Regions from separate parts of the Homo sapiens genome. Here all the other regions are linked to region 1. The links are contacts of gene promoters, found by promoter capture Hi-C in blood cells and fetal thymus (Javierre and others, 2016). All regions are on one chromosome and are shown on one strand. The core of a region is centred on a gene start or on the middle of the fragment in contact, and the rest is flanking DNA. Distances in the headings are between cores, read along the strand shown. Region 1 holds the start of NFATC1 (nuclear factor of activated T cells 1). Region 2 overlaps SLC66A2 (solute carrier family 66 member 2). Region 3 overlaps TXNL4A (thioredoxin like 4A). Region 4 overlaps SLC66A2 (solute carrier family 66 member 2). Region 5 has its middle 4.3 kb from the start of HSBP1L1.

Region 1 (5,359 bases), core at 704-3,203:
CCTTGCAGCAGGGACCTTTTCGAGCTTATTTTCTTCAGTAGGAAACACGAAAACTAGCCACTGCCCCGTCGTGTTTTTTCCTTGCGTAAAAGAAAGGGGCTCCTTACTACAGGTCGGCCACCGGCTCTTCAGGTACAGAGATCTGAACTTGGAAAGACCTGCCTTTCTAAAGGGAGTGATAATGAACACTGCGGCGTAAGTGTCCCAGGATTTAAAACCGAAACTCCAACAAAAAAAAATTTTTTAAACTCTGCTACTAGCAAGAGCACATTGTGTAAAACACTGACACGGGACATGGTTTAAACATGTCAACATTTTCTAACATTGGGATGAAGTGGTGTCTACCTCCCGTCCCGTGAAGCGTCAGGGCACCGACCACACGGACCCCCCTCCGTGGAGCTCACGGCCCTGTGCTCAGCTCTGCTAAGACCAGCGAGTTTTCCAGAGCTGGGGGAGCCCGGTTCTCAAGCAAGCCCCGCAGTTATCAGGGTCGCGCAGGAAGCGGCAGCGCTCGGAAGGACGTCTGCCCTTATGAAGTACATATGTTGGCAGGTGTGCTGGCGCTCTTTAAATAAATTATATAAAATATTTCAGAGCTGGTAAGGAATTTGGAAAAGCGTCTTCCAATTTCCATTAGCATTGCAATCCCTAATCCCTAACTCGTATGCTCACACCTCTGCAAGGGTATTTTCAAAGCCACTTGCAGGAGCCCACCCGGCATCGCCAGGGGTGTGTGCCGGGGACGGGCTAAGGTGGGGGACTGGAATGTGAGATGCGCCGCAGGGGGGTCTCAGCGCCCCCCACACCGGGTTTCAGGGACCCACACTGTGCCATCTTTTTTTCACTATAAAGAAGCAGCTCGAAACTTGGCGGTTCCTTTTCAAACTTGCCTGAAACATCTTCTCTGGCTGGAACTCCTGCCTATAGGATTTCAAAATGGCTTAAATTCGGGGCTGTGCTGCGGCCGCGCTTTGGATCTTTTGGTCCTGCAGGTCCAGGAGCCGGCGTGACGGGCTCGGCCCTGGGGAATTCAGGGGCGCGGCGCGAGGGAGACGCCGCCACGAGCTCGGGGTGGGGGTGGGGGGCGCAGAACCCCCAAACCGCGATCTTGGCGCCAGAGGGTGGCTCTGCCTCGCTCAGGAAGACACGGGGCATCCTTCACTCCCAAGGAAGCCTCCCTTCCTCCCTCCCACGTGCCCTCTGTGGTCCTGACGGCCCAGCCTCGCCCGTCCCCAAATCGCCGGCCTGCGAGCCGCTTCCTCGGCGGGACCCGCGGCGGCCTCGCCTCGCGCCCTCAGCGCTGGGGCAGAGGAGACACCTATTGGCAGAAGGCGCGCTCGGAACCGGGCTGCTGGGAGCTGGGGGACGCCGTTCCCGGTCCGCGCCGCGCCCCTCCCTGGGCGCACAGACCCGGCCGACCTCGTTCTCTGGCCCGGACCCCTCCGTGCGGGCGACGGGGGCGGGGTCGGGGGGCGCGGCCCGGGCCGTGGGGGGCGCAGGGGTCCGGGGGCGGAGGCCGCGCGGGGCTTACCTTCCTCCGCTGACTTCATGGTGCCGCCGGCGCGCGGCGCGGGCCCCAAAGTTTCTCCTCTCCCGAAGACCGCAGCCGCAGGGCCAAGTGGAAACTTGGAAGGGACTGGAAAGCTGGTGCTTGGCATCCGCGCGGCGGCGGCGGGGAGTGGAGCGGCGGGCGGAGGCACAGGAGAAGCGGCCGCCCCGCGCTGCCGGGGTCGGGTCTCCGGGAAGACAGCCCTCGCCCCGGGCTCAGCGCCGCGCGCCCCGGAGGAAAGTCATCGAGGGGCGTGTGCGCGCGTGGCGGGGCCCGGCCGCGGCCCTAGGACCTGCGCGGTGGCTCCGAGCCCTGCCCGCGCCCCGGTGCCCGCGCCCTGCTGCTGGGATCTGGCGCGGCGACTCCGCCGGCGAGTTCGGAGCCTCTGAGTCTCGCTCTGACGCAGGGCCGCGCTCTGCCTCCTGCCTTTTTAAAGCTGGAAAACACCTCCCCCGCCTCCCCGCCGGCCCGGCGGCTCCCGCGCCCCCTCCCTGCCGTGACATCACGCCCCTGCTGCCCGGGCCCGCGCGGGGCCCCGGGGACGAGTCGCCGAGCGCCCGCCCCTCCCCGCGCCGCGGCAGCCGCTCGCCTGGGGGCAGGGGCGCAAGAGGCGGGGCGCGCACGGGGAGGGGGGGCGCACGGGGAGGGGGGGGCGCACGGGGAGGGGGGGCGCCCGGGGAGGGGGGCGCCCGGGGAGGGGGGGCGCACGGGGAGGGGGGCGCACGGGGAGGGGGGGCGCACGGGGAGGGGGGCGCACGGGGAGGGGCGCACGGGGAGGGGATGGGGGCGTAGGGGCGGGAACGGGGAATCCGGGGGCCGGGCAGGGGGGCGCTGGGGCTGGCGGGGGAAACGGGGGCGAACGGGCCAGACGGGACGCCTGAGTCCACGCGGGTGTCCGGAGGGAGCCCGGCCCTGCTGGAAAAGGGGCGGGGGGCGGGGGCCGGGGGCCGGGGAGGGGTGTCGAGAAAGCCCGGCATGCTGAAGTCATTATGTAAAATCGCAGGCTTCCCCCGCTGTGGAAATTTGGAAAAGCGCTTCACTGGCAGGCCCTAGAAAGGAAATTCCCATCCCGCTAAATTACTAACAGATTGCGTGGCCGTCCCGGGACGTCGAGTTATTGTCATTTTTATTCTGTAAATATCTGCTCGACCTAGACGGCCTGTGGCAGGGGCCGGCGTGGGGAGGCCCGGGGACGCGCTCACCTGCCCTAGCCGCCCGGAGGGGGCGTTTTATGGGCGCGACTGCGCGACTTCTGACGGGGGGAGGCCCCCCGGCCACTCACACTTTCCTCTCTTACGTCTCCCTGCGTCTCTTCGGGCGCAGCTCAGCTGCCAACACGGCACCGCATTTTCTTGTTGGCTTTGGATGGGGGGGGTTGGAGGTTAAAGTGTCTGGTGTGTAGAAACCATAAATCGATTGCACGACACCCTTATGTGATTTAAACTAAACCCAAAGGCTAAACTCGTGTCTGCTGCGGGGCCCAGGAGGTCCGCAGACCCCCAGGGATCACTGTGCCCCGTGGGTGCCCCCCACAAGCGCCTCCTCCCTGCCGGGGGAGGCGGTCGGGCGCTGCAGAGCCCGCGAAGGTGCGCGGCCAGAGCCCGTCCGTCCCGCGTCCCGAGGCCTGGCTCCATTCGGCCGCCCCGACTCAGCACAAATGGAACCCCGGCTTTTCCACCGCAGGCCTCGGCCTGGAGAGACGTGCCCGGATTAGCGGGGTGGTGGCCGCCTCGCTCCTGCGGCGTCGAGGCCATTTCCAGGGGTCTCTACCTGCGGGGGCCCCTACGGCGCCGAGCCAGGCGTGGCACGCGCCCCAGAGCACCGGGCGCCGGGAGGGGAGGAGGGGCCGCGGGAGGACGCCCAGGCCGGTGGGCGGGGGTCGGGGGGTCAGGGGGACTCCAGCGAGGCCGCGCCCCCACGCCCCTCCCCCTCCCCTCCCCTCCAAATCTTCCCGCCGCGAGTGTCCCCAGGCCTGGGGCCAGGATTTGGCGGGGAGAGTTTCCGTCCCCCCCGCCCCGCCCTCCTTCTCCCCACCTCCAGGACGGGGCGGGCGGAGACTCGCCGGGAGGAGGGAATCCCGAGGCCGGGTCTGGCGGGGCGCGCCCAGCCGGTCACGTGGGAGACTGAGCCCCTCGACCCCAGCCGCGGTCCTCGAGCCCGGGACCGACCTGGCGAGGCTGCCCTTGGCTCCTGAGGAGCCGGGGCCGGGGCGGGGGCGGCCGGCTCTTCCTCCTCCTCCCGCCCCTCCCCTTCCTCCGCTGCCGCCTCCTCCTCCTTCAATAAATAATTTTTTCACCCCATGCAGAAAAGCTCCCTTTTCCTGTCTGCTCTCAAAGCCGTCCTTATCCCCCCGCCCGGGTGACGGAATCCCGGGTCTGTTTCCCTCTGTTTAATGCCGTTGCCGGGACCACGGTGGCCGCGCGCCAGGCGCAGGGAGTTCCGGAGGCGGCGGCCCAGAGCGCGGCCAGCTCGCCCGGCCTCTGCGCCCCGGCCCGGCCTCTGCGGCCACCGCGGGCCCCCGGCTCTGCTCCCCGAGCGCCCTGCGCCCCTTTCCTCTTCCTCCTGCCTCCTCGTAGGTTTGTTTATAGCCGCTACTAGGGGAGACGTTACACGGGTTTTATTTTAGGATTGGTGATGACTAACAAAGTTAAAAGGAGCTTAGGACAGAAAACAAGACTATTTTTAGATGACTGTTGTTTCTATGGATTATTGGGGGCAAAGACACCCCTAGAAGCTTACCGTTTTAAAAGCCCCTTGGGGTGCCAAATCCCTTCTCCTGGAGCGCACTTGGGTGTTCATCCACCCCGTCCAATATTTTCTAGAGCCTGGGCGGTCACTGTTGCTGGGGCTTCCTGGCGTCATGTGTGAGCACCAGGGCTATGAGACGCCATCCTGGCAGATGCGGGCGTCTCCAGCGCGGGCCGGGCCGGAGCTGCCCCGAAGCTCAACGCTCCATCCCGTCCCGTCTTCGGAGGGTGGGTGCCACCTGCCCCGCGTGGGGCTTTCCATCCTCAGGGGCGCTCGGCACACGCGGTGCCGCGTGGGGCTACCTGGCAGGTGCGCCAGCCAGGGGCAGGTGCGCCCACCCTTTCCTCCCCCTACTGAACCGCAGGCCAGATGCCACTTCCTGCTCGGGAAAATCACTTAATACGACTGTGTTCTGTTCCTGCGAATGTTCTGTTCCTGCAGTTTTGCATTCTGGCCCACAGCGGTGGTCACTTGAGAGCTTTTCCCATCAGGGGTCTTTGAGGTTTTGACTCAACTCAGAATCCACCCCCTTCTTCCTGAGGCACCTTCCAACCAACAGGGAAGGGCCCCCACGATGTCCAGAGACTCTTGAGACCATCTGGAGAAATGGGCATTTATTTAGCCAGGGTCTGGAGACTAGGATTAAATTAGCAAACCAGAATTATAGAAAAAGCTATTTACTTTTAAGTAAACTGAGATTTTTTTTTTTAAGTCAGTGTGAATGAACCTCACAGCCATGGTTGGAGCTGAGAAAGAAGGATTTCCCTTTAGTTATACACCCGTGTCAGCACCTTCTGACTTTCCTTCTAAAGTCTGGGGTGTTCCTGAGGACCCATACATTTGGGGTTCAGAGTTTCTATACCATGCTGTTACTTATGAAACATCTCTTTAACCACGCCCCTTCCCTGGAGGGTTGCTAAGGGCTTCATAGGTTTCCCTGTCTAAACTCTTAGCATGAACACCCACCTCATGGACTACCACCATGTCTAAAAACTCAGATCACCAATGGATCAGTCAACTTTCCTACCCTAGACGTGTGTCCAGGGCATTAGGATCAAGGCC
Region 2 (5,058 bases), core at 1-2,500, 510 kb before region 1:
GGCTTCAGCTGCACGTCCTGCCGGCCCCCGTCTGACCAGGGCTGTGTCCCGGCTGGAACTCTGGAGCCCTCTGTCTTTGTTGGTGTGTGCAGACCTGAGCTCTGCCACTGCGGAATCCTCACGGGGCGTGGGCCAGCCGCCTGCCTCCTGGCCTGCCTGGCTCCCTGGGGTTCTGTGTGTTGGAGGCGTCAGCAGGGAAGGGGACGGAAAGATGTCCAGGCCCCCACTGGCCCCTCAGGGCTAACCAGCCCCCTCCTAGGGTGGGCTCCGAATGGGCCTGGGCTCTGCCTGTGTGGTTGGGGCCTCAGGAGTGGCCCCGACCCCCGATTTCCCTCCAGACAGCAAAGCAGCCCACGCTGTTCCAGGCTCTGCTCTTCCTTCCTGGGGGCTGGGCTCAGGCATCACCTTCCCACTTGTCCCCACCTGAGGCCGTGGTGTGGGTGCTGCAGTGAGCCTCTTAGCCCTTCCCCTGCCACACCTGGCAGCCAGGGGCATTCCAAGTTGCAGACCACATGGCTTTACCTGATTTTACAGTGGGAGCTAAAAGCTGTCTCTCTAGGTCTGGGTTGCTTGCTTTGACTGTTTCACTGAAGATAGTTTGAAAGTTGTTCACAGTTAACTTGTGTGGCCGCTGTGTGAGGAGGGACGTTGTCTGTCAAAGCAGCCAAAACAAACGTGCCCTGGCCTCCTCCGTCTACACTGGAACACGCCCAGCCATATGGGAAACCCTGGGCAAAATAGACACAGTCAGCAGATTCTCCGGGGTGCCACGTTTCTCTATTTTACACCTGTCTTTGGTCCTTTATATAGGATTTGTGTGGTTCATATGGTCTCTTTTAGAATGAGAAAATGTTAAATTACAGCTTAAACTTGCCTTAAATTACAGCTTAGTTCATTCATGTGTGATGCGAAAAAAATGCTCAAATTTAGAAGAGAGTGAACTAGAAAAAGTCTTGTGAGATGGTGGGGAAGGTTGGGGACTCTGTTGTGAGATGGTGGGGAAGGTTGGGGACTCTATGGTGAGGGTGTGGGGAAGGTTGGGGACTCCGTTGTGAGATGGTAGGGAAGCCTGGGGACTCTGGTGAGGTGGTGGGGAAGGTTGGGGACTCTGGTGAGGTGGTGGGGAAGGTTGGGGACTCTGGTGAGGTGGTGGGGAAGGTTGGGGACTCTGGTGAGGTGGTGGGGAAGGTTGGGGACTCTGGTGTGAGATGGTGGGGAAGGTTGGTGACTATGGTGAGGATGTGGGGAAGGTTGGGGACTCTATGGTGAGGATGTGGGGAAGGTTGGGGACTCTATGGTGAGGATGTGGGGAAGGTTGGGGACTCTGGTGAGGGTGTGGGGAAGGTTGGGGACTCTATGGTGAGGGTGTGGGGAAGGTTGGAGACTGGTGAGATGGTGGGGAAGGCTGGGGACTCTGGCGAGGGTGTGGGGAAGTCTGGGGACTCTGGTGAGGGTGTGGGGAAGGCTGGGGACTCTGGTGAGGTTGTAGGGAAGGCTGGGGACTCTGGTGAGGTTGTGGGGAAGGTTGGGGACTGTGGTGAGATGGTGGGGAAGGTTGGGGACTCTATGGTGAGGGTGTGGGGAAGGTTGGGGACTCTGTGGTGAGATGGTGGGGAAGCCTGGGGACTCTGGTGAGGTGGTGGGGAAGGTTGGGGACTCTTGTGAGATGGTGGGGAAGGTTGGGGACTCTATGGTGAGGATGTGGGGAAGGTTGGGGACTCTGGTGAGGTGGTGGGGAAGGTTGGGGACTCTGTTGTGAGATGGTGGGGAAGGTTGGGGACTCTGTTGTGAGATGGTGGGGAAGGTTGGGGACTCTATGGTGAGGATGTGGGGAAGGTTGCGGACTCTGTGGTGAGATGCTGGGGAAGGTTGGAGACTGGTGAGATGGTGGGGAAGGCTGGGGACTCTGGTGAGGGTGTGGGGAAGGTTGGGGACTCTGTGGTGATGTTGTGGGGAAGGCTGGGGACTCTGGTGAGGTTGTGGGGAAGGTTGGGGACTCTGGTGAGGTTGTGGGGAAGGTTGAGGACTCTGTGGTACTCTGATGGGGAAGGTTGGGTACATCGTGGTGAGGAAGACTGGGGACACTGTAGTGAAGTTTCTGGACTCACCCTTGAACTACACATGCATAGATCTGGCCCTAAACTACATGCCAACAGCTTTGTGAACTCAGTGTCATTGTGGACAGTTGACTGCTCAAGTCCCAGTCTTGTCTCTGAGTGTTGCACATGAAAGACAGATCCAAAGATCAAAAGGGAGGTTTTGAAATGGAATTAAATTGAACTGCAGTCCACCAAAAACAAGTCAGACCTCACACCCTGAATCTAACCACATGAAGTGCTTGGTAGCAGGAAAAGCAACACTGTTGATAGGACCATGGAAGACTCACATCTCACTGCATAATGTTCAGAATGTCCAAGATAAAAACCAAAGTTATGTATGAAGAGTTGAGTTTCTCAGCTGCCAACGGAAATGACAGTCAATAGAAACCAACTCAGGCTGACAGATCAGACTTATCCAAGATTTTGAAGTCACTGTTGTAACTGTGCTCTAACAGGTAAGAGCAAACGTTCTTGGAATGAACGGGAAGACCGAACATCTCCATAGAGAAATAGAAGTTTAAAGAAAACCAAATAGATAATTTTAAATTGAAAAATACAATAATCTAAATAATATATTTCACGACACAACTGTAGAATGGAGATGAGAGGAAATAGTGAAGTTGAAGGCAGATCATTAAAAAATGTCCATTCTGAACAGGAAGCAATTGAAAAACAGTAACAAAAACATGAATAGAGTCAGGGACAAATTCCAAAGGGTCTAATATTCTGTCATCTGAGCCCAGAGGAGAGGAGAGTGTGACACAGAGGAAAAATAGCTGAAGAAATAAGGGCTGAAAACACCCAAAATTTGGTGAAAGACAAACATAGATGTAAGAAGTTCAGTGAATCCCAAACATATCACATCACAATCAAACTGGTAAGAATCAAAGTCAAATAAAAAATGTCGAAAGCAGTTAAGAGGAAAAGGATCCAAATTACTATGGGTTTCTCACCAGAAACGAGGGAGGTCAGAAGGAAGTGGCACATTTTTCAGATGCTGCAAGAAAAGAACGTTTGACCCAGAATTCTATATTCAGGAAAAAAAAAAAAATTCCTTTAGGAATCAAGGCAAAATAAAGACCTTCTCGAATGAAAGGAAACAAAGCGAAGTCATGGGCAGCAGTGCTACTCAACAGGAAATACTAAAAAAAGTTCTTCCGCTGGAGGAGAGCAACTTGGGACTCCAGGAATGAAGGAAAACCAACAGAAATGGCCAATATCTGGGTAAATATAATATATATATTTTTCTTCTTAAGTTATTTAAAATATGTGTGAAAGTTAGCAAAAAATATAACATTGTCTGGTGGGGTTTTTAGTGAATGTAGCTGTACGTGACAAGTCCAATGTAAAAGAGGGAGACGATAGTGAACTTGGTGCTAAGACTTCTGCATTCCACTTAAAGTAATAAAATGTTGATCCTAAGGAGACTTTGACAAGTTAAATATATTATAGTCCCTAGAATAAGATTTTTCAACAGCAGCACTATTGATACTTTGAACTGGAGAATCCCTTATTGTGGGGGACTATCTTGGTATTATAGGATGTTTAACAGCATCCGTGGTCCCCTACACACTAGATACCAGCAGTGTTCCTCCAGTTGTGACAACTAAAAATGTCTCCAGGAATTGCCAGATGTTTCCTTGGGCAGGGGTGTGAGGATGGGGTCATAATCACTCCCATTTGGGAACCAATGCCCTAGAGCACTAAAAGAACTATACAGGCCTGACACGGTGGCTCACGCCTGTAATCCTAGCACTTTGGGAGACCGAGGTAGGTGGATTGGCTGAGCTCAGGAGTTTGAGACCAGCCTGGGCCACGTGGTGAAACCCATCTCTACTAAAATACAAAACATTAGCGGAGTGTGGTGGCGGGCGCCTGTAGTCCCAGCTACTTGGGAGACTGAGGCAGAAGAATTGCTTAAACTGGGGAGGCGGAGCTTGCAGTGAGCTGAGATCGCGCCACTGCACTCCAGCCTGGGTGACAGAGCGAGACTCCTTCTCAAAAAAAAAAAAAAAACAACCAAAAAAAAAAAAAACTATACAAAGAGATACAGTGAAAAACCAAATAGATAAATTAAAATGGGATATTTTAAAAATTTCAAATAATCTAAAAGAAGGCAGGAATAAAACCGTAGGGACAAGCTGAGACCAAAAAAAATTAAAATGGTCGATCTAAATTCAAACCTGTCAATAATAACATTCAATGTAAATGGCCTAATCATACCAATTAAAGGACAGCAATGTTCAGATTAATTTAAAAAGAAACACAAGACTCAGCTACCTGCTGTTTACAGCAAACTCAATTGAAGTCTGATTACATCCATGGCGGATGCTGGGGTGCAGGATGTATTGACCAGGAGGCCATGCAGTGAGAGATGCATATATGAACCAAAGAAAGCTTGGAGTCGCTGTATTAATATCAGGCAAAGTAAAGGACATTTGCCTTGAATAAAAAAGGACATTGCATCATGATAAACTGGTGAGTTCACCAAGAAGATACAACAGTTCTGAGTGTGTATGCATGGAACCCCAGAGCCTGGAAGTCCATAAGGTCAGAACTGACAGAAATGCAAAGACAAATCCCCAGTTGCACTTAGGGACTCCAGCTTTCCTCAGTAACTGATAGAAAAAGCAGACAAAGTTAGCAAGGATGTAGAAAATCTGAACACCATCAACAGCCAAGTGAACGTGCGCATTCTTTTCAGATGCCCGTTGGGCATTCACCAAACAGACCATATCCTGGGTCATGAGAATTTTTTTAAAAAAGAACTGAAATTGTGCAAAGTATTTTCTATGAATATAATATAATTAAGCTAGAAATTAATAGCAGAAATAGATCTTAAGTCTCCAAAGGTTTAGAAGCTAAACAACACACCTTTAAACAATCTGTTAAAGAGGATATTGCAAAGCAAACTATTGAAAATATTTTGAACTGAAAAATACACCACCATATCAAAATT
Region 3 (5,296 bases), core at 2,426-4,925, 580 kb before region 1:
TGAACCCGTCTGTTCCTATTGTTCCACTTCAACAATTGCTGGTATTTTGCTGGTCTTGTGTTACCTAACCCCTCATTTTTTTAGGCTGTGTGTTTCATGGAAATCCCAGATATAATTATTTCACCTGTAAGTTACAGTCAGGTTGTAAAGATTTAGTTTTATATGAAGAAATGTTGTGCATATCCCATTGATTTCCCGTGACTGCTGTGAGAGGATGCTGCAAGCTGAGGGGCTTAAAACAACAGAAACTTCTCTCACAATTCTGGATACCAGAAGTCCAGAATCGAGGTGTTTTCCAGGCTGGGCTCTCTCTGAAACCTGCCAAGGAGAGTCCTCATGCTTCTCCCAGCTTCTGGTGCTGCCAGCAGCCTCTTGGAGCTCCTAGGCTTGTAGACGCCTCTGCAGTCCTCGATGCCCCCAGAGCCTCCTGTCCCTGTGTCTTTATGTGGCCATTTTCCTCTAAGGACACCAGTCACACCAGATTAGGGGCCCACCTACTCCAGTATGACCTCATCTTACCTTAACTGATTACGCCTGCAGTACCGTTTCCAAATAAGCTGCGCTGTCACTTTGGGGGTTTAGGACTTCAACTGTTTTGGGGACACAGTTTAACTCATAACACATGTAAGTGGCTACAAGCTTCTAAAGGGCATTGAGTTAGTATTTATAAAGAGCCTTTAAAATGTCATATCCTTTGTTCCAGAATTTTAGGAATTTGTCTTTAGGAAATAATGAAGTATGTATACAAATTTAAGGGGGAAAATGTTCACAGATGAATAATATTAATGAACAATCAGAGAGTAACAGAAGAATGGTGTAGGAGGCTCTTCTCGCATTGCTATAAAGAAATACATGAGACCGGGTAACTTATGAGAAAAGAAGTTTAATTGGCTCACAGTTCTGCAGGCTGTACAGGAAGTGTGGTACTGGCATTTGCTTCTGGGGAGGCCTCAGGACCTTCCAATCATGGCAGAAGGCAAAGGGGAACAGGCACGTCGCACGGTGAAAGCTGGGGCGGAGTGTCACACACTTGGAACAACCTCAGCTCACTACCCCGAGGACAGCACCAAGAGGATGACGCTCAACCATTGATGAGAAATTCATCCCATGATCCAGTCGCCTCCCACCAGGCCTCACCTGCAACGCTGGGAGTTACGTTTCAACCTGAGATTTGGGCAGGGACAAATATCCAAACTATATCAAATGGTAAAGTAATGGCATAGCCATTTGATGAATCACGCAGCCATAGAAGTTTGCCATTTTTGGAAAGTAGGTAATGTATGTAAAAGAATGCTCTTAATTGGCCGGCGCTGTGGCTCACGCCTGTAATCCCAGCACTTTGGGAGGCCGAGGTGGGTGGATCACCTGAGGTCAGGAGTTCGAGATCAGCCTGGCCAATATGGTGAAACCTCGTCTCTACTAAAAATACAAAAATTAGCCAGACGTGGTGGCACACACCTGTAATCCCAGCTACACGAGAGTTTGAGGCTGGAGAATAGCTTGAACCTGGGAGGTGGAGGTTGCAGTGAGCCAAGATCATGCAACTGCACTCCAGACCAGGCGACAGATCGAGACTCCGTCTCAAAAAAAAGAAAAAAAAAAGAATGCTCAAAATTAAAGCAGCATACAAAATATTGTAGTACGATCACAATATGACCATATTTTGCTATGTCTGAACAGAAATAATATGAACAAATTAAAAAATATATATCTATAAGAAAGGGGAAAGAATATAGTAAAAATATTGCCAGGCGTGGTGGCTCATGCCTGTAATCGCAGCACTTTGGGAGGCCAAGGCAGGCGTATCACTTGAGTCCAGGAGTTCAAGACTAGCCTGGGCAACATGGCAAAACCCTGTCTCTACAAAAAATACAAAAATTAGCCAGGTGTGATGGTACGTGCCTGTAGTCCCGGCTGCTTGGGAGGCGGAGATGGGAGGATCGCTTGAGCCCAGGAGGCAGAGGTTGCAGTGAGCCAAGATCTTGCCACTGCACTCCAGCCTGGGCAGCAGAACCAGATCCTGTCTCTGGAAAAAAGATAGCAGCAGTCACCCCTAGGTGTTGGGATTGGAGGTGATCTTATTTTCTTTTTATTTTTCTGACTTTTCTAAATCTCTGATAAACTTGCAATTAAAGAAAAAATAACAGAAAATGTGTTATATGCAGTATTATTGGAGGTACTATTAATATTTGCAAGTGTTCAGACCTAATTGCGGGGAAATGATGGCAGGATTCTACAGGTATATTTTAGAGCAGTTGTGAGATGCATGTAACTATTTGTAAAGGTTCATACAGATGATTACTAGATCAGCATAAATAATATGTCTGTGGACGTTTTCTGCAGGACTTTGATAACTTGTTACCTGAGTGAAATTTAATTCCTGGGCGATTCTGGGAGATGGTAAAGTGAGGCGGAAGGAGCCAGCGGCCAATTCCTGAACTATTCTGGGAAACGGTGGCGTGAGGCGGAAGGAGCCGGTGGCCAAGGTCCCAGTAGTGTCACATGATCTTCCCGCGTGTTTGCTGCACTGGGAAAAAATGTTGAAGAATTAGTTTGAAAATTGCCCCGTTGGCCAGGAGTGATGGCTCACTCCTATAATCCCAGCACTTTGGGAGGCTGAGGTGGGAGGATAGCTTGAGCCTGGGAGGTCGAGGCTGCAGTGAGCTGATTGCACCATTGCACTCTAGGATGACAGAGTGAGACCCTGTCTCAAAAAAACAAAACAAAAATTGCCCTGATCCACACAAATTCTTGGTTTTGTTTTTATAAATGTGCTTCTATAAAATGAAAGCCAAAGTGTTCTGTTATTTCAGTTTTTTTTTTTAATCTCCTTTTAGGTTAAAAATTTTGCAGTTATTTATCTTGTGGATATTACAGAAGTGCCTGACTTCAACAAAATGTATGAGTTATACGATCCATGTACTGTCATGTTTTTCTTCAGGTACGTTATCTTAAAGTTGTTACTGAAATTGAATATTGTCAGTTTGGAAGCTTAATGTAATCAAGATCTCTTTAGATTATTTTATTTTGAAGGAAGTTGGTTGTACAGTCATGTCCCAAAATCGTTTGTATCACCAGGCAATCAGTGTGAATCTTTGAAATAATTTTCAAAGTAACAATTCTAGTTTTAGCATTTACTCAGTAACAAATTACCCTTTTGAAATAACTTTGCGGGGAAACCTAGGTGAAGTGTAATTCAATGAAAGATGTTGTTACTGACATTTTAGATACCTGGAACTATAATCTGTTCATCAAAAATGTTGTAAAATCACAAATTTAGGCCGGGCACAGTGGCTCAAAGCGCCTGTAATCCCAGCACTTTGGGAGGCCGAGGTGGGTGGATCACAAGGTCAGGAGTTCGAGACCAGCTGGGCTAAGATGGTGAAACCGAGTCTCTACTAAAAATACAAAATTAGCCGGGCGTGGTGGTGCATACCTGTAATCCCAGCTACTGGGAGGCTGAGGCAGGAGAATCACTTGTACCCAGGAGGTGGAGGTTGCAGTTAGCCGAGATCATGCCATTGCACTCCAGCCTAGGCAACAAGAGCAAAACTCCGTCTCAAAAAAAAAAATCAAAAACCTAATTTATTAAATATGTTATCATCAACTTCGGTGTCCTTTTTTATATCCAAGAGGAACACCTGAACTACTTTGCTTATAAATACAAGATTATTTTATCAGCTCAAAAATTTCATTATGGAAATTTAATGGGGAAAGAAATCACCATCTGATGCTGTTTTTACTTGTTTAGTTACCATAGAGGTTGGTGAATTAGCTACATGAGCATTAGACCATTCTCCAAAAGTGGAGCCTCCTACTCGGTAAGGAAGGTCAGGTGGGTTGTATAGGGTATGCGTTAGTTTTGTATTCTTTGTAACAAATTAGCACGCATTGAGCAGCTTAAATCACCCCGCTTTTCTGAGCTCACAGTTCTGTAAGTCAGACATCCAGGCAGGGCCCGCTGGATTCCTGCTCAGGGTCTCACAAGGTCTGAACCATGGGCTGGGTGCTTATCTGGAGTGTTTGAGGGGCTTGTTTGGGTTGTGGGCCGAGTCTGGCTCTTCGTGGTGGTGGGTCTGAGATCTGCTTCCTTGCTGCTGTTACCTGAGGCCACTCTGCTGCCAGAGACCCAGTTACCCTCAAAGCCAGCACTGGCATGCCGGCACATTGAGAACTTTTCACACAGGTTCTCTGACCTGAAAAGTTCTGCCTGAGAAAATGCTCTGGTTTTAGAGGACTGTGATAAGATTAGACTTGCCCAAATAATCCAGGATAGTGACCTTGTTTTATTTATTTATTGAGATGGAGTCTCACTCTCACCCAGGGTGGAGTGCAGTGGCACCATCACAGCAAGCTTGAACTCCTGGCTTCGAGCCATCCTCCCGCCTCAGGCTGCCAAAGCGTGAGGCACTGCCGTGGTTCTGGGCGTCGGGATACGCTCCCCTGGACACGCCCTTGGCTTCCTAGGTGCCTCCTGTTAGGTTGAGAAGATCTGTGAGGTGCACCCTGCATTTCTTGTGAACTTTTCATCTTTCCTAGGTTTCAGCAAAGGTTGCGTGGCTGACCCTCATCCTTTTCTCTACTGTGTGTTCAGCAGCCATTTCTGAATTTCAGCCCCTTTGGCCATCCGGAGAGGCTAAAGAATTTATTCCTTTTGTTAACAGTTCTTACACTAATTTGCCTCTTTCCTCTCTTGAAGGCAGCACCTCCGAGACTTTGCTTGGAAGTTTCCGCAGCTAAATATCCCGAGTGTGTTGCTTTTGAGCTCTGACTTCCTATAACTGCGGACCCCGTGTCCCTGTTCCTCGGCCACTCTGTAACGGGGGTCCCCTTTTCTCCGTTTCCCAGTAACACACTCCTCACTTCCTTCCAAGCCCACACCAGGTGTTCCTGAAGTCCATATTTCTGTTAACAGCCTGTTCGAGGCAATAGAGGCCTTTTCTATTTTGCCCCTCAGAATTCTTCAGGTGAGAACAGGGAGGGCCGTCTTAGGTCTCTGCCCCCCACAGCGTGCAGTGGAGGCCAGCCTGGGGCTGGAGATGCTGTGAGGGGCAAGGAGGCTGCAGGCAACAGCCTTGGGTGGCGGGAGCAGCCTACTTAGTGTAGTTTGATATTTTTAGGACTGATGCTGTACTCAGAAAAGGAGATGAAACTTCCTTCTGCTGTTTCTGTGATTTAGAATTTTAAGACAAACGGTACTTTAGTTAACTTATGCACCAAACATATATCTTGAGCCCCCACCAGGTTTGTGGTCTAGTGGTGGAGCCTAATGTCAGATAAGACAGGATTCCCACTC
Region 4 (5,720 bases), core at 2,569-5,068, 550 kb before region 1:
GGGCGGGAGACGGGGAGAGCAGAGGTGGAGTTCGAATCTTCACGCCTCCAAAGCTGTTGGGGCATGGTCCTCAGAGCTCCAGTCCCTCTGGGCAGCTCCCCGTTGGGGATTTGGGGTGCATGGCATATGGGGCTCTGCAGTCCTGCAGGGGCTGCTTTAACAGTACAAACCCAGGGATTCTGAAACATAGGTCACTCATGTTTTTGTTTCTTACAGTCCTTACTACCATTTTGCAAAACCAGCATTCAGCAGATCACACTCTGTGGAATGCCAACATTCAGGATTTGGCAGGTTGGTGCCAGAAGCCAGGAGAAGGGCTAAATGATGCCTCATAGCTGGTGTTTGCCAGCTGTGAGTATGTGGAGGAAAAGCGGAGAGGCCAGGCGGGGATCAGGCCACACTGGGCTGCAGGGCCCTGGGAGCCTCAGCTCCACCCACAGTAGCACCCAGGCTGGAGCACTCTTAGATGGAGGAATGAAAACATTGTATCAGAGAGGTCATAACATTTTGTTACTAAAGGTGATAGCTTTAGTGGTGCCTAAGAGTAGATACAAAGCTACAAAGCTTCTCTTCTGCTGGATTTTTTTTTTCTTTTAGACAAGAGTCTCGCTCTTGCCCAGGCTGGAGTGTAGTGGCACAATCTCGGCTCACTGCACCCACCGCCTCCCGGGTTCAAGCAGTTCCCTGCCTCAGCCTTCCAAATAGCTGGGATTACAGGCGCCCACTGCCACGCCCAGCTAATTTTTGTATTTTTAGTAGAGACGGGGTTTCACCATATTGGCCAGGCTGGTCTTGAACTCCTGACCTCGTGATCCACCTGCCTTGGCCTCCCAAAGTGCTGGGATTACAGGTGTGAGCCACTGTGCCCAGCCCTGCTTGAGTTTTTCTGTGAGATTTTGGAACATGGAGAAGTTTTTCTGTGGGCCTGGTCAGTTATGGGGCACCCTCTATACTGTCTCTCCCTGTGGATGGGCACCTGGGCATGATCACCTGCAGAGTCCACCTTAGACGAGGTATCTTGGTGCTTCCCGAGGAGCAGGCTCCTGCACCACACAGGTGGGCTGCCTGGCACCTGCCGTGAGAAGAGGCATGGGAGTCACGCCCTCCGGCAGGAGAGGAAAAGTGCTCTCCTAAGTTCATGGCCAGCACAGACTGTTATCACTAAAGGAAGAAAAAGTTAAGTTGAGAAGTAAATGTGGCATCTATTTTAATTAGCTTTTAAAATTACTAATGCTGCTGGATTCTGTTTCGTTTTCATTTTGTTCCTTGTGCATCTTTTGTGGAACACTGTGCTTTTTGAAATTTTGTGTTTTTCTTTGTCTTCACCCTAAAATTAGTTTACTATCTCCCCGGGCACCCTGTCACTTCATTTTAAAAGGCCTCATTCTTTACTGTGCATATCGAGTTTCTCTAGATTTGATTTTTGATGTGTGGATTATGGGGAAGCTCAAACCTTGATTCACCCGCCTCCTCCTCCGTCTCGTCATTCATTGCTTCTGTTAAACATTTAAAAAAATGCAGGTGGCCTTTCACACAGAGTGGCCAAAATGGCTCACGTGCAGCCTCATTGCTGGAGGTGAACGTGGTGTGAAGTGGCCTCCGTGTGTCCCAGGGGACTGGCCTATTTTAGATGCTTGCCCAGCGTCACCTCCTCAGCCTCAGGTCTCTGTGGGTGGGTTGACCGGCACCCAGGCCGCTTGGTAGCCAGTGGAGAACGGCCCTGGAAGTGACTGTGAGCTTGGCTGTATCCTCCAGCCTTGGGGGTTGCGATCGTGCTTTATAGTGCAGAGGCTGAGGCCTGGAGGGGGCCGGTGTGGGGGCTGGAGCCAGCCTGTGGGCAGAGTGCCCGTGCCCCCTGCACTCCTGCTCCTGCAGTGTCCCTGCACCTCCGGCCTGTGCCTCAGGCCCAGAAAACCCTGTTCAAGCTGCCTCTTTGCTGCTGGCCGTCCTCTATCCCCGGGCCCATCACCCTCCCTTCTTCTGTTTGCCTCTTAGTCTTGCCTTGTGTGTTTCTCAGAGGCTTCCTCGGGAAGCATCCAGTGAGGCAAGGGGACGGTGGTGGCCCCTGCTGACCTGGGTGATATTCCTGGAGGTACAGCTTGTGTGCCTGCCTGCCTGGCCCCTGTCCACCCTGGGCCATGGCTGCTGACCTGGGTGAGATGCAGCTTGTCTGCTTGCCTGTCTGGCCCCCTGTCTGCCCCAGGCCCAGGCTACTGTTTTCTCTGCCCTTCCCTCTGCTCCCTGAGTCTCTGTGACCTCAGGCAGCTGCTCCCTCTGCTGAAAAGCTCCCAGGAGACAGGGAAGGGCCTTGGTCTCTGAAGCCAGCACAGAGGGAATCAGCATGGCCACCCTCTGAGGACTGCATCCTGGCTCCCTGTCCTCCCAGGAGAACGTCTGTGGCTTTTTCCTGGTTGCTGTGGGAGCCTCACCTGCAAGTGGAACCTTCTTACCTGCTGGGCTGGCTCACCTGCTGAGGGGGCTATAGGGTTCCCCTTGTTCCTGCTCTGAGTTGATAAGGCAGTGCTGAGGGGGCTATGGGGTTCCCCCTGTTCCTGTTCTGTTGATAAGGGGGTGCTGAGGGGGCTGTGGGGTTCCCCCTGCTTCTGCTCTGTGTTGATAAGGGGGTGCTGAGGGGGCTGTGGGGTTCCCCCTGCTTCTGCTCTGAGTCGATAAGGGGTTGCTGAGGGGGCTGCGGGGTTCCCCCTTCTTCTGCTTCGTGTTAAGGGGATGCTGCATGGGAGCTGGAGAGAGGTGGGGGCTGTGGTGGTTGTTGCTAGGTCTTCCAGTTTTTCAGAAGTTGGGAAATGAGGCTGTTATGTAGGATCTCCTGACTTTGACATGTTGGTGACCAGTTCAAGTTTTGAAAATTCCCTTCAGGCCAAACTGCAGGCTGATTGAGATTCCCGCGCTGGAACAGTCAGGGGTTGGGGCTTTCTATGAGTGCGTGCCACACACAGCCCAGCCTTGGAGGTGGTGGCTCTGCAGGCATGTGTCCCAGCTCTGTGGTGGCTCTGGGGAGGCAGAGACCGCAGGGAGGCAGAGACTGCCAGTCATTGGCCTGTGGTTCTGCCCTGCAGAGGCTCCTAGCTGAGCTGAAGAGATGCTCAACCCTGGTCAAAAGTCAGCAAGAAGGCCTGGGAGCCTGCAGCTAGAGGAGCTCGGGGCCAGGGAGGCGTGGGGGCGGGGGTGGTGCAGAGCCTTGGCTGTCTTCTCTTCTGTGGGAGTGTGTGTGCATGTGGAAATTTCGCATCTGGCCCACCTGCTGCTCTGCACACTATCCCCGCCTTCCCCAGGCAGGAAGCAGGGCTGCTGTGAGCTAGAAACTGGGCTTTTTGCCTGGTGGCAACCCGGAGGCTGCAGGGAGGGCCTGGGGCACCTGGGCTGAGCTGTGGGAGGGGACTCAGGGCCACTAGACCCGGGTACCAGTGCCTGGGCCACTGGTTCTGGGGAGCGCCAAATGTGCCGAAGGGTTCTGAGTCAGGCTGTATGGGGGTCTTACGGCCCCTCCCCGGAGCCCTACCCCACCTGGAGTCTGGGAGATGGGCAACAGGTGCCTGGTCACTGTGGTGTTTGCCAACTCCTGGGCTCCTTCCCCGGGATGCCGCTTGGGGCCTGGGAGAGGGGGAGTGGGTGGGCAGTCTTTCCTGCTGCAGGTTCAGGACTGGGTGAGGCGGCGTGGGTGGGCCTCCCTTCTGACCCGGGTCTCTCCCGCTGCAGGTTCGGGATTGGGAGAGGCGGCATGGGCGGGCCTCCCTCCCGACACAGGATCTTTCCTGCTGCAAGTTCGGGACCAGGAGAGGCGGCATGGGTGGGCCTCCCTCCTGACACAGGATCTTTCCTGCTGCAGGTTTGGGACCAGGAGAGGCGGCATGGGTGGGCCTCCCTCCTGACCCAGGTGTCTCCCGCTGCAGGTTCGGGACTGGGAGAGGCGATGTGGGTGGGCCTGACACAGGGTCTCTCCGGCTGCAGGTTCAGGACTGGGAGGGGCGGCGTGGGTGGGCCTCCCTCCTGACCCGGGTCTCTCCCGCTGCAGGTTCGGGACTGGGAGAAGTGGCATGGGTGGACCTCCCTCCTGACACAGTGTCTCTCCCGCAGGTTTGGAAGGCGCTTTGAGTCCCCGCTGCTGTGGCAGAGCGCCATCATGATCCTGACCATGCTGCTGATGCTGAAGCTGTGCACCGAGGTCCGTGTGGCCAACGAGCTCAACGCCAGGCGCCGCTCCTTTACAGGTTGGTGGCCGGCGCTTCGGAATAAAGTCGCAGGGAATCAGGGCGTAGGTGACTCTGGTGAAACAAAAGCCACTCTAATCTGTCCTGATCCAAGCAGCTTTCATTTCACCAAGTGGTGCTGTTATCTCCAGCTGATAGTGTTTTCAGTATGTTAAATGACTTCAGTTAAACGGTTTATGACTTGAAGCAATTCAAGATAATAGTTTCTTCACTGGAAGTTGGGTGAGGCCTCAACACATCTTCACGGTTCCTCTTGGCTGTGAGCGCCATCCCAGACGCTTTCTGTGTCAGAACAAGAAGTGCTCATCTGTGCCTGGCCCATCAGGTCAGACGGTACCAGGTCAGGCGTTTCGTCTGTGTGCGTGGCCTGTACACAAAACACACCCTTTCAGTTCTGCTGTGACTCAGGGGTACCTTAGCCAGGGTCTTCCTCACAGACCTTGTTAAACAGACCCAGAGTCCCCCCGCAGGGTCAGGCAGCCCCTTTATGCGGAGCACACTGCAGTGTTGACAGCTGGGCAGGACCAATCACATGCTTAGCACACATGGCTCCTTAACCTTTGGCAGCTTAGAAAATAGAAAATACTTCTTCCAGTTTTTGCCTATTGCACAGTTTGTTCCAGTCTGAACTCTGTTTGAACATGCAGGCTGGCGGGCTTCTTGTGTGCAGGAGGGTTAAATCCTTCCTTTTGTTTTTCTTCTAATTACTAAATCTAAGACAGCACTCACTTTGGCTTTGAGAGAGAGAGTGATCTCAGCTATCACTTGGAGAAGAGTATCTTCCCAGAGTTTGTTAAGTTTGGGGCTTCTGTGGATTTGAGCTCTTGCCGGGGAGCTGTGTCCCTGTGTTTCTATTCCTGACCGCTACTTCGTCCTGTTGGAGAGGATTCCCACCTCTGCCTTTTTGTCTGCTTCTGTTTCTAGACTGAGGTGACTGTGTGCTGCTTTCAGCCTCTGTAGAAACCAGACCAGCCTCCAGCCAGTGTGACCTGGGCCAGTTAGTGTCGTTGGGGCCACAGAGATGAGCTCCAGCGTCTTTTCTGCGGTGTTCTGTTCTTTCTCCCCATTCACGCCATTCTCCTCTCCTCTGAGTCTCTGCTCTGTTCCCTTCTATTGTGTTTTGGGTTTGAAATTACACCAGAGATGGTACTGAGGATACCACAGATCTTGCCTAGAAAGCAGGCTTTTAAGAACCAGCCGGATTCCCCGCATGAGGAGCTGCGGTTTTACATTTCTGCTTAGGTGACTCGGTCTTGCTCCCCGCAAGGCTTTGCTCCTTCTCTGGACCTGAGCTCCTCATGGCATGTTCCCTGCCCCTTTGAACCTCAGTATTTAACTTGGAACAAGAATGTTCTCACTGTGGGAGGGCCGGCTGGCCGAGAGAACGGTTTGTGCCTAAGATGCCCAGTGCGTTGCTGGGAGTTTCTGCTGTCCTCGGGCTCTGGACATTTGTGCCTAAGATGCCCAGTGCGTTGCTGGGTGTTTCTGCTG
Region 5 (5,342 bases), core at 955-3,454, 560 kb before region 1:
TACGAAGCAGGCGGGCCTCCGGAACAACGCTGGGTGGCAGAGGCCAGGCGTGAAGACCCTGAGTGGTAAGTCCATGGAGAGTTGGAACAGGCAAGGCCACGGAGACAGAAAGTTGACTTCTGTTGCTGGGGGCTGCAGGGACGAGGGAGAGTGCGGAGAGATTTAGGAGGTCTGGGGTTTCTTTGTGGGGGGACAAAAATGTTCTAAAATTAGATCGTAAGAAGGTTTCACAACCCTGTAAATATACTCAAAACTGTTGAATTATGCCCTTTAAATGGGTGGGTTTTGTGGTATGTGAATTACATTTCAATGAAGCTGTTAAAATTATTTTTTAAAAGCATGGCCATTTTGCCACTTTTTGTGTGCTTTTAGCATCCTCCTCTTTTTTTCTGTCTCTGAGAGAGGCTGAGATACAAACTTAGTTGTAGGGGCCAGTGTGGACGGCTGAGAAAGACGCGGTGTGGGTGGAAAGTGGCTGCTGTGCTGTGGCTCCCGGCCCACTCCCAGGACCATTCAGGCCTAAGGAATCCTGCCGGGCGGCTTCTGGCTTCTCGGGAAAGCCAGTGTGGGTGGCTGCTGAGGAGGAGGAGGCAGGGCCAGAAGATGCCACAGTACAGGGTGGACGGCCTGCACCCAGGAAAGCCTGCCTGGCGTGGGGGGCAAGGAGTACAAGCCGGTGGTGTTTCCATCAGAAACACACCTCAGTGTCAAGAACCAGAAGTCACTCAAGCTAACTTAGGGGAAAAGGAAATTACGCCTGTAGAGAGGAGGCAGACACAGCGGGCTGGCGTCAGCCCTCCAAGCTCTTCAGAGGGCGCTCATCTCTGGAGGCGGGAGGAGATGGGCAGTGGTGCCCCACGGCAGGGCCACGACAGGGTTCCTCATCAGCCCACAGGCAGCTTTCCTAACCACAGACAGCTAAATGAGCAGGGAGCCAGTCAGACTGCCCTCCTTCCTCCCTTCCAGAAAGTTCTAGAACGTCCCCTCTTCCCTTACTCTGCAGGCACGGAGTTCCCGGAAGCTTTACTCCAGGGACAGCCCAGCATCAAGCTCATGGCTTCAGGGGACGGCTCCCTCGTGGTGGGGGCAGGCGCAGACCCAAGGGCTTTCGGTGTCTCCAGGGCGGGGCTGCTCCCTGGCTGCCGCTCCTCCCTTACTCAGGCGGAGCAGGGGCCACAGAGCTCTTGACAGCACTGAGCTCACCAGTGATAAAGCACTTCGGACAGCCGTGAAGGCAGACTGGCGTTGGGACTTTGGAGAGCTTGTGGGCACCCTGTGGAACCCGTTATCTTCAGATGTTGACTGGCTGACTCTGGGTGCAGGTTCAAGCTGGGCACCCTGTCCTCATGGGCTATGCGTTCCTAACCACAGACAGCTAAACGAGCAGGGAGCCCCACTGGCCCACACGAGCCTGGAACTGGCCCTGCAGAAGACGAGACGAGCCTGCCTCTGACCTGGGAACGCCTCTCTCCTCTCCAGCCGGCATCGGCCAGGCTCATATTGGGCCGTCCCTCCAGCCCTGGCTGCTTTTTCAGGTCAGGCTTCTTGGGCAGCCCGAGTAGGACCACCCAGCATCGCCGCACACAGCAGCCTCAGGCCTCACCGACATAGGCCGGGTGGTCTGTGGAGATGACAGGACTGCCTTTCTTTTTTCTGGGATTGGGTTTTGCTGTGTCACCCAGGCTGGAGTGCAGTGGTGCAATCATAGCTCACTGTAGCCTTGAACTGGGCTCAAGGGATCCTCCTGCCTCAGCCTCCCGAGTAGGTGGGACTACAGAGGCACGCCACCATGCCCGGCTACTATTTTTTATTATTTTTCTAGAGACAGGGATCTCCATATGTTGCCAGGGCTGGTCTCAAACTCCTGGGCTCAAGTGATCCTCCCACCTCGGCCCCCCAAAGCGCTGGACTTACAGGCACGAGGCCATGCTGGCCAAGGACTGGCTTTCGAGCAAAGCTCTTCAGCTGGATCTGATGGAGACAACACAGTGAAGGGGTGGGTTGCCCCTCCACACCTGTGGATGTTTCTTGTTAGGTGGAACGAGAGACTTGGAAAAGAAAGAGACACAAAGTATAAAGAAACAAAAAGGGGGCCCAGGGGACCGGCGTTCAGCATACGGATCCACACTGGCACCGGCCTCTGAGTTCCCTTAGTATTTATTGATCATTATCGGGCGTGGCAGCAGGATAATAGGATAATAGTGGAGAGAAGGTCAGAAGGTAAAAACGTGAACAAATGTCTCTGCATCATAAACAACGTAAAGAAAAAAGTGCTGTGCTTTTGATGTGCATATACACGAATATCTCAATGCCTTAAGGAGCAGTATTGCTGCCAGCATGTCCCACCTCCATCCCTAAGGCGGTTTTCCCCTATCTCAGTAGATGGAATATACAATTGGCTTTACACCGAGACATTTCATTGCCCAGGGACGAGCAGGAGACAGAAGCCTTCCTCTTATCTCAACCTCAAAGAGGCGTTCTTTCCTCTTTTACTAATCCTCTCAGCAAAGACCCTTTACGGGTGTCGGGCTGGGGGACGGTCAGGTCTTTCCCTTCCCATGAGGCCATATTTCAGACTATCACATGGGGAGAAACCTTGGACAATACCTGGCTTTCCCAGGCAGAGGTCCCTGCAGCCTTCCGCAGTGTTTTGTGTCTCTGAGTACTTGAGATTAGGGAGTGGTTTGAGGTTAGGGAGTGGTGATGACTCTTAACGAGCAAGCTGCCTTCAAGCATTTGTTTAACAAAGCACATCCTGCACAGCCCTTAATCCATTTAACCCTGAGTTGACACAGCACGTGTTTCAGGGAGCACAGGGTTGGGGGTAGGGTTACAGATTAGCAGCATCTCAAGGCAGAAGAATTTTTCTTAGTACAGAACAAAATGGCCCTCTGCTCAAATTCTACAATGCCAATATGGACTGCGGGTCTTCAAAGTGGTCTCCTCTACCTTAGGAACACAGCAAGAAAATGATGTGCATTCTCGATTTCACAGCTACTGGAGGAGTCATCGGCCAGATCGGCCTAGCAGTTGTTTCTTTTTGACCCGATAAAATTATGTTTAGAATAGCTCTCAGTTTTCCTGCTCATGTTTGGCTTAGGATAAATGTAGAAATTGTGCCTTCCTCAGCATATGCTGCCTGGGTGGCGCATGAACTGACAAAAGAGAAACTGCCGAGTACTAGCCCAGGATGAATAATTGACCATGGGAATCTAAATATTAAAGAATATTAATGTGTATTCTGAAGTTACAGAAATTAGCCAGTCTTTCCCTGGTGTGAGGACAGACAATTGGGAAGAAAACAGTCTGGGTAAGACTGAAATAGCTAATTACGTGAGCGAAGATGCAGACTACAAGAGCAGAATGTAGACATGAAACAAAGCTTTAAATTAGAAAACCAACGTTTTATTTTGGATAGCTGAAAACGTCCCAGTCCAACCCAGTGTAGGGTGCAGCTGTCTTTATGAAGCATGGGTGTCCATGGAGGTGCCCAGTTGCCCCTCGGATCCAGTGTGGGTGGCCTTGTTTCTGAGGCCCTAAATCTAAGACGCTGCTGATTTTAGGGTGCACTGTTATTATCAGAAATGGAGAAACGCTGCCAATTAAACGTTAAGTTCAGTTCTTATTTTATACTCATTAAAAGAGCGATTTTATAATTATTGATGCTGGTTGATGGATACATGCCTTTCATTATGTTACGCTCTTTTGTGTTTGAAAAGTTTTATTTAAAAATTATATAAAAGCAGTTCTTTTGGGTATAGATTTGGGTATACAGATCTGAGTAGAGACTGTTGCTCCTTTCTTTTTTTGAGACAGGGTCTTGCTCTGTTGCCCAGGCTGGAGTGCAATGGCAGAATTACGACTCACTGCAGCCTTGACCTCCTGGGCTCAGGTGATCCTCCCACCTCAGACCCCTGAGTAGCTGGGACTACAGATGCACACCAATGTACCCCACTAATTTTTGTATTTTTAGTAGAGATGGGGGGTCTCACTATGTTGACCAGGCTGGTCTTGAACTCCTGAGCTCAAGGGATCCACCCACCTGAGCCTCCCAAAGTCTTGGGATTATAGGAGTGAGCCACCGCACCTGGCCCGCTCTGTTTTACTTATTCTAAAATAATTGCAATATTTTCATAAGTTTAATTTTCATTGTTAATGCAATATCAACCAACTATTTTCTAATCCCATGAATTATTTACTATGCAATTCTGGTCCTGTTTGAGTAAGTGGTCTTTCCAAGAAGTCATGATTGTGGGTAATGAGGACCTCCTGTACCATGCAGCTTTTGTAGGTGTGAATTTTAAAACAGTGGCTCTCAAATATGGCTGCACATCAGAACTTCTGGGGAAGGCTTAGAAGGCTACCCTGACTGGCACAGTCCCCTTTATCGGTGCTCTGCGGGTGGGCCCGGGCACTTGAGCATTTGTGGTTTTAAAGCTGCCCAGGGGTTTCAGTGTGTGACCAAGTGGCTTAAGCTGTGGAATATAGCTTTAGACCCGTGGTAGGGAGGGCAGCACAATGGAAGTATTTTACATCAGAAAAGTCCCAGCTCCTCCCACTGTCCCTTGTGACATTTTGTCCACAAGCTGTAATCACCCAGTACATTGTTACTTTATGGCTTTTAACAGTTGTCTTTAGATCAATTAAGAATAACGAGGTTGGCCGGGCGCGGTGGCTCACACCTGTAATCCCAGCACTTTGGTAGGCCGAGGCGGGCGGATCATGAGGTCAGGAGATCAAGACCATCCTGGCTAACACAGTGAAACCCCGTCTCTATAAAAATACAAAAGATTAGCTGGGCATGGTGGTGGGCGCCTGTAGTCCCAGCTACTCGGAAGGCTGAGGCAGAAGAATGGCCTGAACCCGGGAGGCGGAGCTTGCAGTGAGCTGAGATCGCGCCACTGCACTCCAGCCTGGGCAACAGAGCAAGACTCCGCCTCAAAAACAAAAAAGAATAACGAGGTGGTTCACGCGTATAATCCCAGCACTCTGCGAGACTGAGATGGGTTGATTACCTGAGGACAGGAGTTCGAGACCAGCCTGGCGAACATGGCGAAACCCGGTCTCTACTAAAAATACAAAAAATTATAGGCCGGGCACGGTGGCTCACGCCTGTAATCCCAGCACTTTGGGAGGCCAAGGTGGGCAGGTCACGAGGTCAGGAGATCGAGACCATCCTGGCTAACACAGTGAAACCCCATCTCTACTAAAAATACAAAAAATTAGCCGGGCGCGGTGGCGGGCGCCTGTAGTTCCAGCACCTGAGAGGCTGAGGCAGGAGAATGGCGTGAACCCGGGAGGCGGAGCTTGCAGTTAGCTGATATTGCACCACTGCACTCCAG

The links. The method cuts DNA at HindIII sites, captures the fragments that hold promoters and counts their contacts. A CHiCAGO score of 5 or more calls a contact.
Region 2: a fragment that was not itself captured here is called in contact with the fragment with the promoter of NFATC1 in region 1 in 1 of 17 cell types (monocytes); the score reaches 8.3 in monocytes.
Region 3: a fragment that was not itself captured here is called in contact with the fragment with the promoter of NFATC1 in region 1 in 4 of 17 cell types (monocytes, erythroblasts, total CD8 T cells and 1 more); the score reaches 7.3 in monocytes.
Region 4: a contact is called between a fragment that was not itself captured here and the fragment with the promoter of NFATC1 in region 1, in 1 of 17 cell types (monocytes). The highest score is 5.9, in monocytes.
Region 5: a contact is called between a fragment that was not itself captured here and the fragment with the promoter of NFATC1 in region 1, in 13 of 17 cell types (megakaryocytes, erythroblasts, activated CD4 T cells and 10 more). The highest score is 13.5, in megakaryocytes.

Annotation. Positions count from the first base shown.
Region 1 is chr18:79,392,524-79,397,882 of GRCh38, reverse strand. It overlaps NFATC1 (nuclear factor of activated T cells 1), which reads right to left and starts at 1,953. Exons shown (of 10, transcript NM_001278669.2): 1 at 1,532-1,953. The coding sequence starts at 1,658. RefSeq lists silencers at 1,258-1,357, 1,718-2,117, 3,543-3,832 and enhancers at 1,014-1,561, 3,203-3,322, 4,027-4,551, 4,552-5,077. The HindIII fragment of the contact is 8,960 bases long and covers 1-4,285 here.
Region 2 is chr18:79,906,411-79,911,468 of GRCh38, reverse strand. The region is part of intron 5 of SLC66A2 (solute carrier family 66 member 2); the gene reads left to right. Among named protein-coding and RNA genes, the nearest start is that of SLC66A2, 43 kb to the left of the region's middle. The HindIII fragment of the contact is 6,496 bases long and covers 1-4,498 here.
Region 3 is chr18:79,975,243-79,980,538 of GRCh38, reverse strand. TXNL4A (thioredoxin like 4A) reads left to right here. Exons shown (of 3, transcript NM_006701.5): 2 at 2,838-2,941. Among named protein-coding and RNA genes, the nearest start is that of TXNL4A, 11 kb to the left of the region's middle. The HindIII fragment of the contact is 1,363 bases long and covers 2,994-4,356 here.
Region 4 is chr18:79,941,838-79,947,557 of GRCh38, reverse strand. SLC66A2 (solute carrier family 66 member 2) reads left to right here. Exons shown (of 6, transcript NM_025078.5): 3 at 4,096-4,229. Among named protein-coding and RNA genes, the nearest start is that of SLC66A2, 7.0 kb to the left of the region's middle. RefSeq lists a silencer at 3,234-3,293. The HindIII fragment of the contact is 6,504 bases long and covers 567-5,720 here.
Region 5 is chr18:79,957,711-79,963,052 of GRCh38, reverse strand. No RefSeq gene overlaps it. Among named protein-coding and RNA genes, the nearest start is that of HSBP1L1, 4.3 kb to the left of the region's middle. RefSeq lists enhancers at 2,317-3,001, 4,127-4,724, 4,725-5,323. The HindIII fragment of the contact is 2,361 bases long and covers 1,024-3,384 here.